Linked DNA regions of Homo sapiens: region 2 is linked to region 1. Evidence: promoter capture Hi-C in 16 types of primary human blood cells and fetal thymus (Javierre and others, 2016). All regions are on one chromosome and are shown on one strand. The core of a region is centred on a gene start or on the middle of the fragment in contact, and the rest is flanking DNA. Distances in the headings are between cores, read along the strand shown. Region 1 holds the start of TCF12 (transcription factor 12). Region 2 overlaps TCF12 (transcription factor 12).

The links. Contacts are between HindIII fragments. The CHiCAGO score rates a contact against its expected background, and 5 or more counts as called.
Region 2: a fragment that was not itself captured here is called in contact with the fragment with the promoter of TCF12 in region 1 in 7 of 17 cell types (fetal thymus, megakaryocytes, M1 macrophages and 4 more); the score reaches 6.9 in fetal thymus.

The regions. Positions count from the first base shown.
Region 1 is chr15:56,916,987-56,924,165 of GRCh38, forward strand. TCF12 (transcription factor 12) reads left to right here and starts at 1,658. Exons shown (of 21, transcript NM_207037.2): 1 at 1,658-1,920; 2 at 2,906-3,002; 3 at 4,040-4,112. The coding sequence starts at 2,928. It overlaps TCF12-DT (TCF12 divergent transcript), which reads right to left and starts at 1,513. Exons shown (of 4, transcript NR_015419.2): 1 at 554-1,513; 2 at 79-226. RefSeq lists silencers at 818-957, 1,478-1,607, 1,778-1,827, 1,918-2,207, 2,258-2,697. The HindIII fragment of the contact is 11,533 bases long and covers 1-6,267 here.
Region 2 is chr15:57,088,008-57,095,510 of GRCh38, forward strand. It overlaps TCF12 (transcription factor 12), which reads left to right. Exons shown (of 21, transcript NM_207037.2): 5 at 3,782-3,884. Among named protein-coding and RNA genes, the nearest start is that of TCF12, 170 kb to the left of the region's middle. The HindIII fragment of the contact is 652 bases long and covers 3,920-4,571 here.

The DNA.
Region 1 (7,179 bases), core at 408-2,907:
CTACGTTGCTTAGATTGGGACCACATGCCCCTGTAAGTAGGCAGAGCAGGGATGTGACTCAGAACTGGGCTTGTTTACCAAGATAAGGAAGAGTGGATACTGGGGAGTCTAGGCCACCATAAGTTTCAGGTACAGCCAATGCAAAGCCTTGGAAATCCACCTGACAGCTCCGGTTGTACCGTCCGCCCTCCGTATCTGGGGTTTCCAAATTCCGGGATTCAATCAACTGAAAACAAAAAATGTAGTTAGGCTTACCAGGCCTGAAAATACATGAAAATATAGAGCCTAAAATATAGCCTGAAAATGTACTGAAAATATAGAGATTTCTTTGGATGATTATTTCCTAAATACACCTTAACAACTATTCACATAGCATTTGCATTGTATTAGGTTTTATAAGTAATCTAGATATGATTTAAAGTATATGGGGAAACACACCATTTTTATGTAAGAGACTTGAACATCTTAGAAAATCCAGAGTCTGGGAACCAATCCCACGGATATAGAGACAACTGTACTAACTACAGTAATGGCATATGGTAGCTGAATCTACCTCTCTTTCCATCCCAGTCCGGAATCCAAAGGCTCCTTCTTGCCATGTTGTCCTCGGGCGTTGGCTGCTTCCTCCCATTTGTTACTTTGGAAGTGTCTTCTTTCCTCAGTGTTTCTTCTGCGTGGGCCTTACCGGTCTTTACTGCACTCACTTACCTAAGAGGCAAAACAATGGCTGCCATTCAAGAAAATCTCACTTCAGCCCAGAATCGAAGAACTGGGGCTTATTTTGTCTTCTTTCTACTCTGGGGCTTCTCTGAGGCCAAGTTCAGAACTTGTGCACAAGACAGTGGCTGTGTGACAGAGCCACCCAGGGCTGTCTCCGTTAGATGAAGAGACTGGCTTGATCCATTCCCAAGAACTAGTCCCACGTGCAGTTCGGTTGCTCCGAATGGGATTTGGGTGCGAGGGGCTGACTGGAGATGTGGGGTCTGGGTGAGTGGGGTATTTGAGAACCTGAAGCTCACAAGGCTTTGTCTGGTTTGAGGTACGTTTTGCCCTTTCTCCCGCATTCGGCTCTGCATCGAATCTGACCGGCCGCGCCTACTCTCGGAACGGCCGAGGAGGATGGGTCTCCCGTCTCCACACGCGCGGTGTCTGCGCCGACTGCAGCCCTCCTGGACGGGAGCCTCTGGGCCCAGCTTAGGGTGGCGTCCAGCGTGACCTACTCGGGAATGGCAGCCTTCAGTGTCCTGCGGCCTCGGGTTCCGGGAAGCTCGGGGACCTGGGCAGCGGATCCAGATGCTTCCACAGCTGTGTCTCCGTCGCTCCGCTTCGGGGGCCGAGAACCAGCAAGACCAACGCGAGGAGGCGCCACGGTACCTGCCACCCCGCTCCCAGGAGGCCCGGACGAGGCTTCGTCGGCGAGCGGTCGGGGCCTGCTTCTCGAGGTGCCTGCGAGCGCCTCATGCCCCTCCCCACCGGCCCCAACTCCGTCCCGCCTCACCCGACCGCGGGCTTTGTCCACCCGCCGCGGTGCGGCTCCTCCCAGTCCCCGACAGCTCCTCCCCGCCCCCTCTGCCGGCCCCACTTCCTAGGCGGCGGAGCGGGTCGGGGAGGGAAGGGTTAACCCGCGGCTCTTCCCGGCGCGGAGGGATCCGGAGGCGAGCCGAGCGCGGTGGTGAGGCCGCCTCAGCGAAAAAAATGTCCGCCTGAAGAGACCCACAAGTTCTATTCGGGGGGACCGACAGCCCGCCCCGGGAGGAAGGGGCGGCCAGGCCCGAAAGCCGCCTCCCCCTCCCAGACCCGAGAGCTCGTGCGGGGCAAAGTGAACCGAGCCGCTGGGCGGTGCAAGGGGAAGCCCAAGCCCGTTCTCCCGGCCAAAGTGAACTTTAATCGGGGTGGTTGGATGCGGAGACGGGGCGGCAGGTAATTGCGGGCTAGCGAGCGGGAGTGGGGCGGCGCGGCGGGGCTGGGGGCTGCGGGGCGCCGCCGCGTCCCTGCCGGAGTGGGGGCGCCCCCGTCCCCCGCCTCAACTCCGCGCCCCTTTGTACAGCGCGAAACCCGGGGTCCCCTCCAAGTTGGGGAGCGGAGTGGGGGCGGAGGCTCGAGTCGCGGGCGCTCAGGCCCGCTGGCGGCGCGCTCGGCCTGTGCGCCCCGTTCGGTGCCCGACTCGGGCCGGCGCCCAGGCTCCGGGGCGCGCGGGAGATCGGGCGGCTTCGGCCGCGGAGCCAGGCTCATTGTTCGGCAGGTCCGGGGCAGGGCAGCAAAAGTGGGAGGAGGCCGAGCCTGGGGAGGAGGACGCCGGCCGAGAGCGAGACTAGTTGTCGGGGTTTCTGTTTTCTGTTTAAAAACGCCCCTTGGATGAGCTGGGGGTGCTTTCCGACCTCCTGGGCCCGCCGGGGACGTCCGGGCGGCGGCGGCCGCAGACGCGGGCCTGCGAGCGGCGCGTTCCCTGCAACTTGTCAGTTCTATTGTTGCCGAGCGAGTGAGTCACTTCGCATCTCCGCTCGCCGCCGCTCCGCTCGCTGGACGCCGAATTGCCCCTCACCCCGCTCCTCGAGACCCCAGCCGCGGCCGGGCCCGGCGCGCGGAGCACCCGGCGGCGGCGCGGAGCAGGGGGCGCCGAGGAGGTGGCAGAGACTGGCTCGGAAACTTGGGGGAGAGGCGGCGAGTTGCGGGAGCCGCCGCGTCGATCTCGGGCCGCGGCGAGGAACGCGTGGATTCCGGGACCCGGCGCGGGCACTGAGCCCTCCCGCCCCTTGCTCGCGCCGCGGTGGGAGCGAGTCGGGGTCCTGGAAGTCATCCCGGCGCCCCCAGCGCTCTTGCGTAATCTTCCCCAGTACCTCTCTCTGTTCCCTCACACACTTTGGGCCTCGGTGGTCTCTCGCTGAGCCCGTTTCCTCTGCCCTAGGACCTGCTAGAAGTGGCCGAAGATGAATCCCCAGCAACAACGCATGGCCGCTATAGGGACCGACAAGGAGCTGAGCGACCTACTGGACTTCAGTGCGGTATGAGAGCTTTCCATGGCATCTTGGGGTTCTGCTGAGGTTTTTGTTTGTTTGTTTGTTTGTTTCTTTTAAATAAAGGGTGAGGGGAAGCAACGTGGAGACTAGGCAGCGTGAACTCCATCTGCTTTCTGCTTAAGCAGTAGTTCTCAGGGCTGGAGTCCAGCTCCCCCAAGTTGGACACCTGAACTTTGATGTAATGTCTAGACTTGCACATTTAAAACTTTAATGCCAGAGGGGTCATTTGATTTAACCAGTTAAAAGGAGAACAATGTAATTATGACCTTTGGTTGAGTCACCCTCCCACCGCGATGATTATTGGGGATCTTGTACTTTATATGAAAAAGTGTTGTTTTTTTCTTCAGTACTCCTCACCATTTTCCTCTCCAGTATCAGATGTAGTTTATGGTACCTGAAAGATGTCAGCGACAAGAAAAGTAGTCCAGAGCTAGAATTTCGAGCCTTCTGAAACAGAGTACTTTTATTTTATACACACACACACGTGTGTGTGTGTGTGTGTGTGTATTATGTTCTTAACATGGGAAATGACTTAAAAACATCAACTGAAACCTAAGGGCCCACTGCTTTTATTTTTAATGGGTTTAATTCCTTTATTAACTGCTGTTAGGAGGCAGCACCTATACCTGCTTTATACAATTCAGTTATAATCCTTACTGTATGTAGTAATTTAATGGGCCATAATTCTGACTGTGTATATTGAGATATAATGTAAATGTAATGAAATTCACTTAGTTCTGCAGTAAAGATCATGTGTAATACTATACTGTTTAAACTTAATAATCTTGGACTCTTCCATGTAAATGATCGGGTCTTCAGAACAAAATGTAACCATTATTTCCAATTAATTAGGAAATAGTATCATTCAGTGTATTTGCCTCTCTGGATCTGAATGTATCTCCAATTTTATTTTAACTTCCCTCTGAAATTTAATAACTGATGGATGACTTTTGGTGGACTTTTGTTTGCAAGGAATCTAGAAGAATTTCAGGACTAACAGATATATTTGGGTTATTTTGCAGATGTTTTCCCCACCTGTTAATAGTGGGAAAACTAGACCAACTACACTGGGAAGCAGTCAATTCAGTGGATCAGGTAAGATGATGTCTTAAACTAAAGACTCATATTTTGGTGGTGTGATACATTTTAGTAGAAAAATAGAAAGCATAACATTTAAATATTATTGAATATATGTATATAAAAGATGGAATTGAGTCAAGTGATAATTAGTAAGATTTATTAATTTTAAAAGATGACAGTTCCCTCAGAAATCTGTAGGAAATCAGTAGTTTCGTTTACAATTATTTAAAATGTTAGTGGGGTAAATTTTCAAAATGAATAGAAACTTAGATTTATTTTTAAATGATAAGTATTAGATGACTGAATCCTTTCCTATATCCAGATTACATTATGATAATGTTTAGAGTAAGTTAAAGTAGATCTACACACTAGTGATCTTGTCTTTAAATTTACTTTCAATACATTTATGACTACTGTGCTCCATTTTAAAACATCCCATTTTTCTTAAGTATGCATTTTTTCTTTTTTTAACTTTTAAAAACTCATAATTTAAAAATATTTTAGAAGGAAGGTCCATTCCAGTGTGCAAAAGCTGTAACTTTTTATTTAATTTAAATTTATTTCTTTGTGCTTAAGAGATGAAAAAAATAACTAAAGCCATGACAGCATCATCTTAAGAAAACCAACTGTCAAATCTCTGGGCTGAAACTCAGTAATGCCTCTTTGATGGGTGCTTTTTATTTCCCCTGGTAAAATGATAGTTGGTTTCTTAAAATACTGTGAGAATAAAACATCAGAAAATAAGGTTAATTTCATAACCACCTAAACACTTTATACCACTTTACATTCTAAAAAGTTTGTTTTTAAAAATTGTATACTAATTTATTAAAATTCATTTTTAATTATGAAATTAGAGCTTATGGGGAAAGTATAGCATGTCCTTAATCATCTTAAGTAAGTGAAATGAAGGCATTTTTTGGATTTTAAGTAGGGTAAAGACTAGTATTATTCTTGATCAAAAGGACATCATGAAACGATAGGCAAGTCCCAACTCTTCTCTCACCTCCTTCCTTTTACTGGTAATCATTTGAAAATTGTTACTTTTTGGGGAGGGGGGAGAAAATTTAATAATCTTAAAGTTGTAGAAGATGGCTGTATTTCTTTACTGGTGTTGATACATCTCATTTTTGCAACTAATAATTCATTCTCAGGAACCTTCAGATTTACTTTGACTAATACATAGTAGATGATGCTTAGTATTTTTTAAAAATGAGTCTTGATATTACTGTTGCCTACTGTTCCAGCTTAAGTTATGGTAAATATATATAACTGGACAGTCACTGATACAATAACATGAACTCCAGGAACTTGCTGTTAGAAGTGCATTCTATTTTTAGAATAAAGGCAATTACATTTATTTCACTTTTTAAACTTAAGAAGGATTTATGTAGTCTGTGAAATTAAAAAGTATGTGAACTGGGATATAGATTATAAGCATGGCATTGGAGCAATTTTTGGACTTCAGTACGTTGCATTGCACAAAGAAAAAATTATTTTTCTACATTGCGAATGGTCACCATATTTGATTATTTGGAGTAGGAACTTTTAGTTTTAAAAGTTAGATTTGTTATCCATTGAAAGGTTTGAACTTACACACCTGTAGTCAGTGGACTTAGCAATATTTATCTGTGTGTTTTGTTTTAAATGCTACAAAAAATTGTAATAAAAAAGCTGTGACTTTTAATTAGTGAATGGATTTGAATTTGGGGAAGAGAAAATGCCATGTGATTTTTTTTCAAATCAAGATGTACTGGTAGATATAATTTTTCTGTGGCCAGTTCTTAAAGGGAATGTCTAAAAGAAATTGGTATAGTAACATTATTTTACTTATATATTTTATATTTATATACCTTATTGACATTTGAATAACCTTCTGCCCTGATTTCAAAGGATATTATGTAATACACTCTAATGCCTATGTATTTGCAGCTATTAAGGAGCTAAAGATCTGACTTTCCTTTTGAAGAGCTGCTGTAGTAAAGATTAGGGTTTTTTGTTTGTTTTCTGTTTTGTCTTTGGAGTAACATTTATAAAAACTACATGCCATTTGACTTATGAAAACTAGAGTTTATAGTCAGGTATTGTAATTTCCTTTCTTATTTGTCCTTTTTGAGGAAGACTCAATTTCACAGTGGGCTGTTTTTGAGAAACGATATATAATACTTTCAGAAGCTTTTTTAGCTGAAAGAATATATACTATAGCATGTGATGTTATCTTTAATCTTATTCCTGAAGCAAAACAAATAACTCATCATGGCTGAGTTATTTATGAGTGTCGGAAGTCACTCTGGAAAAGATAAAGGTGTGTTTACTACTACTAATTTGTCTTGAGGATCTGTTATGTTATTCCTTCATCAGGGTGTTAAAATTTTCTTCACGTTATGGTGAGAGTGAATTTGTTCACTTGGTATGATAGGCTCTGTGAAGTGTTCCTAAAGTGACCTTGAGAGAAACTTTTCTTTCTGTAGGAGTGAAAGGTCAGGCACTCTAATTAGGGCAGTGTATAGAAACAAAGGGCAGTGTATAGAAGGAAAGTTGGTTAAAAGGATTGACAAAATGGAAATGGTTCAGATGTTTAAATCCATGTCCTCAACTTCGGGGTTTGAGTGTGTATGTCTAGATTGTGATTTTGGGTTAGTTTTTAGTAGATTGTTTGTATGATATCTGAAAATTTCCTTTGTTTTTGAATCCAAGTAGTAAGGGATGTTGTCATTTTGTAAGCCATCTGTAGATATTGAGCATCTCTCTGGTGTTTCTATCTAGAATGTCATTTTAACTATTAAGTAAAGCTTCACTTTTTCTTATTGAATTCAGACGTTTGTAACAGTATAGTTTCTTTTTGCCCAAAATTTTCAGAGATAATTGTAGGAAGTATTTTCTGGCTCTTAATTTTTAAAAAGGAATACAGTTTTTCATTTTTCAGTTACTGATCTTTTTTTGTGGGGCGGGGGGTTATTTTTAGATGTACTTACAGGCTTTTTGAAAATATTGACATAGGGCCAGAAAAATGAATTCTCATTAAATTACTCTTCAGTATTTCTATTTTTAGATAGTTGTAGATTCATATGCAGTTGTAAGAAAC
Region 2 (7,503 bases), core at 2,996-5,495, 170 kb after region 1:
ATCAATTTGAAATATGCAGCATGATCATTGTATATTTAATGATGTCACTGATTTACTTCCTTTATATTTTAAAATTGAAATAGCATTCATTTACTGGTCCCATTGGTTGATCCACTCGGGCTCCAACTTAACCATTGTTTGCTTGGTTTTTGTTCTTTTCTTGTCACTGCAACCACTCCCTTAGGCCATTTACCTTCAACCTATGTTCTCCAGCCTGTTGGAAGTTACTACATTATTTTGCTTTGTTCTCTGCTATTCTGTCAGCCCCGTGAGTGCTCTGGTTTATGACATTTTCCCCTTTTGCTCTATGAGCAGCCATGCTTGTTGCCTAACTCTATGTGGTATTTCAGAAGAAGTTTAAACTCCTAGTCAACTAACCTATTTCTTTCATTGGGGCTATATTTGACAGCTAAGCTACCTTCTACTTTTAAAACTACATGGATGATTACATACATACATAAAAATATTTTGCTATTCTAATTGCTTTAGTTTTTTTTTTTTTTTCTTTAAACTGTGGGGTTTCTCCCTAATTTATTCTTATCTGGAAATTTCTGGTGTTTTAATATGGTTTCAGTGGGGGGTGCCTGGCTGTCACCTTTCTAGACCTTTTTACTCTGTGTTTATGAAAAAGATCTTTATTCCAAGTTGTGTAAGTTCTTGCTACTAGTAGTGTAGTTGATAAGCCAGCAGCATCAGCATCACCTATTTGTTAGAAATTCAGAATCTTAAGTTCTACCCCCAAGACCTTATGCATCTTAATCTGCATTTTAGCAAGATCTCTACTCGTTTGATAAGAACATTGAAGTCTACAAAGCATTGCTGTAGGTATCGGTCAACTAGATGATACATTGACGTGCTAATAGTTGTACATTTCTACAACTGATTTTAAACATATGACTTGTGATAATCGTATTTAAATATTTGTGAATTATTTCATAACTATTCATCTTGTTTCACCAAAAGTTATACTATGGGTGGGTATTACTACTACTGTGTGAAAGGAATGACAGGAATAATCCCAAACAGTAGCTACCCCCAGTCCTTGAAGTGAAGTTTTGGTGTACAGTTGTATGCGATGTAAAACTGTGACAAACATTTTGCAACTCTATTTGTCCCTTCTCCCAGCATCAGTTTGCACCTGTAGATGAAGAACTATTATTCCTTTCTTGTCTCTTGGACAGTGGCTTTTAAACAAAGTTCCATTTGCTAAATTGAACCTCTAAGGTGTTGGGGAAAATATCTAATTTTCATCCTTAAATCAGAGAAATTGTGCCTTACTGATACTTGATATGTGGATTAATAGTATATGCATATAATCTCAGTAAATAGGTATTGAGGATTCATATCCAACTCTTGCTTGTATTTGAGGAAAAAAGTCTATAGGCTCCTATTTTCTGGTGCACTGTGAAAATCCCAGTCATTAGCAGTGGGAACAGCAAAAAAGTTAGGTTAGCAGGGTAAAAGACACTACATGTAATCTAATCTATAAAGTTAATAAATTGTGTGTAGTCATTTAGCAACACCATAAATACATTTCAAACTTAGATATATTTGTATAGTGGTGCTTTAGGAAATAGTTTTTTTTTTTTTTTTTTAACTGTAGTGTTTTTACTTTTTGTTGTTCAAGAATGAAGAGAACTGGGAGGATACAAAATTGCTCTTTCATTTGCCTTTAGCATTCAAATGTGTAGCGTGAACAATGTAGCTGTTCCGCAAGCACATTTTAATTGGCATTTTTCTACAGTAGTATTGCTGTAGGATGACAAACAATATTTAAGTGAGTATTTTTATAGGTTTTGATGCCTTCCTTTGACTGTGTGCCTAAGAATGGCAGTGGGAAGGGTGGCAGAGAGAACACCCAGATGTACGTGAGATAGTGATTTGTCCCTTAGTATTCATTTTAAGTAGTAAAAGCAAATTCTATGGGCCAGGCATGGTGGCTCAGGCCTGTAATTCCAGCGCTTTGGGAGGCCAAGGCTGGAGGGTCTCTTGAGCCCACGAGTTTGAGACCAACCTGGGCAACATAGTGAGACCCCATCTCTTCAAAAAATTTTAAAAATTGATTGGGTGTGGTGGTGCACTACTGTAGTTCCAGCTACTCCTGGGAGCCTGAGGTGGGAGGATCACTTGAGCCTGGGAGGTTGAGGCTAGTCAGCAGTGATCACGCCACTGCACTCCAGCCTGGGCAACAGAGCGAGGGCCCTGTCTCCAAAACAAAAACAAAAACAAAAACAAAAAAATGGTAAGCTCTGTGGAGTGACGTTAGCTAAGAGCCATACTATTGTGTATATAGGGTCTACTAAATGTGGCTGTATCAGACAGGACTTATGGTTATAGTTACCAGAGAACACTTGTGGTCATAAGTTGTGAATGGCACCCAGATTCTTCTTGAATATCTATCACATGTCTATCAGTAATTCTGAAGTATGTAAAAATGAAACAAAGATTTATTTGGGAGTTAGCACTCCAGAAGATTAGTGTTAAAACAGAACAGCAGAAGGAGTTGTGACATGCATCTATAAACAATTGTAATGATTTGACAGTTATTTAGCCCTCTATTCCTAGCCCTTTCATTGAACTGACAGCATGCCTGCAAAGATAGTGAGGCCTGTTTCAGCCACATTAATGTCCTCTTAAATGGTAGCCTGCAGTCTGGGGAATGATAAATGTTCAGTGATTGATGATTTTTTTAGTCCCCGGGGATTCTGGGTGGTTTCAGGTTTCTGTGAGCCAGGGTAGTTTTTTCTCTTACTTGGGCTTCGTATACGTTTTTCCGGTCTTTACCATGTTGGTTTTAGATTGGCAGAGATATATATGACCTGCAGTTTTAATTAATAGAGTTCAAAGCCTTGTTTAGAAACAATATGATTTTGGAGGTAATGCTGTACTTAAAGAGTGCGTAAAAGTCTGAGAACCAGGACAGGTTTCATCACGTAGTAATTTTGTAACACTTGTTTTTGTTTGTAAACTTTATCTTTTTTCCCCTTTGCTTTAAAAAAATATGTTTTAAACTATAAGGAGAAATGTAATAACAGCTACTGTGAAAAGTAACATTAGCTTTATTGTTTTTAATGGTGTTTGTAATTTCATTCTTAAGAATTTAAATCAGCTATGTTTAATAATTGTTTTACTTTTTACATGGCTCAGTTTCTGTAGGAGTATATATTGTTCTACTACAGTAGTATTAAAATGAGTATAAACAGACCTTTTTTGTTGAATATTTGCCATTTAGGAAAGGATTCATTTCTAGCATATTGATTGTGAATTAGTTTTAGTATTTTAAGTCACTTGTAATTGCCTAACGCTTTATTTTTAGGGTCTGGGGGCAGGGAGTGAATAGGAGGATAAAGATAAGCATTTCCCTAATTTATTACAACTGAGAAATATATTTTCTTAATTTATTTTAAAAAATCCATTGTACTTTCCCTTTGGATGTAAAGTAATCTTAGAGGTAATTTTAGTAATAGTTTACAGAATTCTTATAGCTCCCCATCCCATCAGAAGAGCTGATGATACTTTGAAAACATTCGTGCTCATGGTTAGTGTTTATTTATAGAAACCCACTTTTCTTTACGATCAATAAAGAAAATGTTTTTTGACTTAAAATCTTAAAAGGAATAAAAGAAGCACTTCTGCTGTTAGCTTTTCAAATAATGAACAAGAAACTTGGTCAGAAATGACCATGTGTAAGTCTGTATATTAATTAGGTGAGTGTCATTATGCTCAATTAGCGGGACTGCCAAATAATCTCTTTAATACTCTGATCTTTTTCTCCCCCTAGGGTTTTACAGACAGCCCTCATTACAGTGATCACTTGAATGACAGTCGATTAGGAGCCCATGAAGGCTTGTCCCCAACACCTTTCATGAACTCAAATCTGATGGGTAAGTTGGTAATTCTCTGCAAGTAGTCTTCTCAAAGCTTCTTTGGTCAGAGACATTTTTTATCCCTTTGTCCAGGAGGGACAGGTAAGTATCTAGAAGAAAGTTCTTGAGTTTCTAGGGGCATCTAGGGCTTTTCTTGTTCAGCACAGCTTGAGGATCAAATGTCCAGAAAATTTGGGGTCTACTCTTAAAGCATTATTGTTTTGGTGTCAAAAAAAGAAGTGGCAGTGTTTTGATTGTCAGTTTTGGCAATGTCTTTGTGACCTCAAGCATTACATGTTTTCTGGGGCAGAGAAGTATTGTTTTAGGGGCATTTGTGATGTTACTATTTCTCTTAACAGTTGTATTATGTTGTAATTAAAAATGTGACATAGCAGTGATTTTAGGCAGACTTTACTTGCATTGGACAATATTTCTCCTGGCACAATTTGATTAAAACATAGTATATTTAGATATTGCAGCATTGTTTTAAGCACTTGGCTTCATACTAGGACTTTTTTGAAGTTTTGGTTTGAAGAAGTGAAGTTGCACTTTCAAGAAGGGTATGCACTACCATCTAAACTTGATTTTTATGTTTAGGCAAAACCTTTGTGGTTAATCATGCTCTGCAAAACACCCCTCCTTTCCTTTCTCCTTCTCTGTCTCAAATGAAAGTTTAAAGTTGTTCAGTCTAAAATTATAAACCCAAGCTTGTTTTTTTCAGTTTGAATACCATTTTTTTTTGTGTAAATATTTTACCCTTTTGCAAAACCTGATTGAAAATAATCTGTATGTTTTATGATTTTTTTTCTTGCTTATGCTGGGGCTGAAAATATTACAAAAACTTTTATCTGTTTTACCAGTTATAACTGTTTTTACCAGTTATGGCATCATATAAATATGGAAAGTTTGTGTAATTGACATTGATTTCATTACTTACTTTATTTCTTAAGGACATGACCTATATTGTGATCTTAGAATCGTCCTTTTAAGACACAGCCATACTAATCTGAGTAGATTACCCAAATCCCAAATCCTGGTGGTCTGCAATTTATTTAAAATGATTTGCTTTGCACAGTCTTTGTTTCCCTTATTCTCTATAGTGTCGAGGAGACAGAATCTGATAGTCTAGTGTGGATTTTGCCGAAGGCGGTTGACAGTTTGAAGCCAGAAGAACCATTAGAGTATGACAGAAGAGTGAAAAAACTGACACAAGCAATAAAACTTGTGTTTAAAATCACAATTTGTTTCAGCGTAAATAAATGCACATAGAAAATCATGGTATTATATGTATTATCATTCCAGATAAAAAAATCAGAGTTAGGTTTACAATAAATTATTTGGCTAGGGAAAACTTTCTAATTTATTTTTTAAATTTTCAATTGAGCTTGCCATCAAAGTAAAATCGATATAACACTCCAAATTATTTCCTTTCGGAGTACAACTTTTCCCCAAGTAGGATTTAATTTATATTAAGTGTAGTAGGGCAAGTAAAAGTCCGTGTTTTTGTAATTTTGGATTAAACTAAGCTTTCTTAATTGAGAATATAACTCTGAACTGTGAAAAATCAGAAATTGCTCTTTTTGTATTTATGTTCTTACCTTTATTCTTCACTCATAGAGATGACTTTTAGGCCCAATGGAATTTCATCATTAGTACAGCTTTGTACCAAGGTGACGATTAAAATTTTGTACGGGACAAGTGTGGAAATTAAATGAATCCTAAGAGGTATGCATGTCAGTCAGTTGCTCTGAGCAGATGTTGACTAACAATATATCTGTAATTCACTTTGAGGTAACATTTTCTCAGTTGGAGCAATTACGAGCATGTGCTTGTTGGTTTCTTTAGTTTTCAGATAATTATTAGAATACGTTCAATAGTCATCCATACCCTATGTATAAAATCAACATCTAAAAAAAGTCTTGAAGTAAATAAATATTTGTAAGTAGATTGATCTCTTAATTCAAATGAAAAAAATCTGCATTCATGTGAACTACGTTGTTTAGGTACTACTTTGTATCAGATGCAGATATACAAACCATACATTTTCTTTTCTTATTTTTGAGACAGGGTCTCACTTTGTCACCCAAGCTAGAGTGCGGTCGCATGATGATGACTCACTACAGCCTTGAACTCCTGAGCTCAAGCTGTCCTCCTTCCTTAGCACAACACCAGCTAATTTTTTAATTTTTAGTTTTGTAGAGATGAGGTCTCACTATGTTGACCAGACTGGTTTTGAGCTCCTGGCCTCAAGTGATCCTTCTGCCCCAGCCTCCCAAAATGTTGCAATTATAGGCATGAGCCACCATGTCTGGCCCAGACCATACGTTTTATTTGTGAGTTTTAACTACCTAATGTAAAAATGTTTACTTATACATAAAAGAAGGAGACAGAACCCTGAAATGATTAAGTAGATAGGTTCAAAAGAAATTCACTGGTCATTGGCAATATCTGATATACTTCACTTCCTTACCTTTATTTTTAGTAAAAATGATCAAATGAGGTACCTTAGTGTAAACAATCTGCACGACAATAGCTTGCTTTTGGAAATGAATGCCTCTTAAATCACAATGCAGTTCTATACAGCAACAGGCAATTCAACTTGATATGAGCTGAAGTAATTGAACTGACACCCAAACGTGGGTTTATAGCAATATATAGTTACAGTGGATAGACTGACTTTTCTGGCCGTTTGTTAATTTAAGGGAGTTTCTGGCTGAAAAACCTAAATTATTAAAGCTCTGCTGAGATGTGTATGGTAGTATTTGAAGCATTTGGAACTGTTGATAACCAATCATCGCAACAGGTAACAGTTGAGAGTGGTGCTGTGCATGATGAATGTTCAGAAACAGCTAAAACTAATAGGAAAGCAGTAACATTTCCTGTTGCTGTCAACATATAAAAACACCATTAAGTGGGGGAGGGATTGTACATCTAGGGAATGTTGTTATTTTGAGTATTATGTTCAGCCATAAGCACATTTGCCTGAAGAAACAGTGGATTATAAAGCACCACTGTCTTCTGTGATAGAGCTTTCAAATACTTTAATGATTTTGTACATTGCAAAAATGAGAAATTTTGTCTAACAAGGGTTGATAATGATTCAGTAATGAACAATTTGCAACAGAAAGTGTGTTTATATATTCATGTATATATTTTGAAGTGTTTTATGCTGAATCAGTTAATGTTTCTTTTATGAATTGCAGAAATCTCCTGTGGATATGTCAATATGGGAAAGAGGGCTTTTCTTATGTTTCGAGTGAAATAAGTACATCTTTTTGGCACATCACTAGGTAATTAGCATCAAGCAGTTCTGTACTCTGAAATATTAAAACTGTATGAAAAGCTTTGACCGTAGCAGTGAATCCCATGGTCATTCAAGGCTACTATCAATCACCAAGTAGCCTTGTCTGTCTCAAGCTTCTTCCAGCTCTGGTCCATTTCTCCACCCTTGATCCTCTCATTAATTTCAGTAATACTTGTTTTCCTTTACCTTTTGATAATTAGTCATATTTTTGATGATGGGAGGATCAGTTTACTGGTTGAACTTAGAAACAAATTATTCTCACAGAATTGCCTGGCTTCCATCCCCAAGTGATTGTGTAATAAACTACTATTATCTTTTTAATCCCTCCATGTT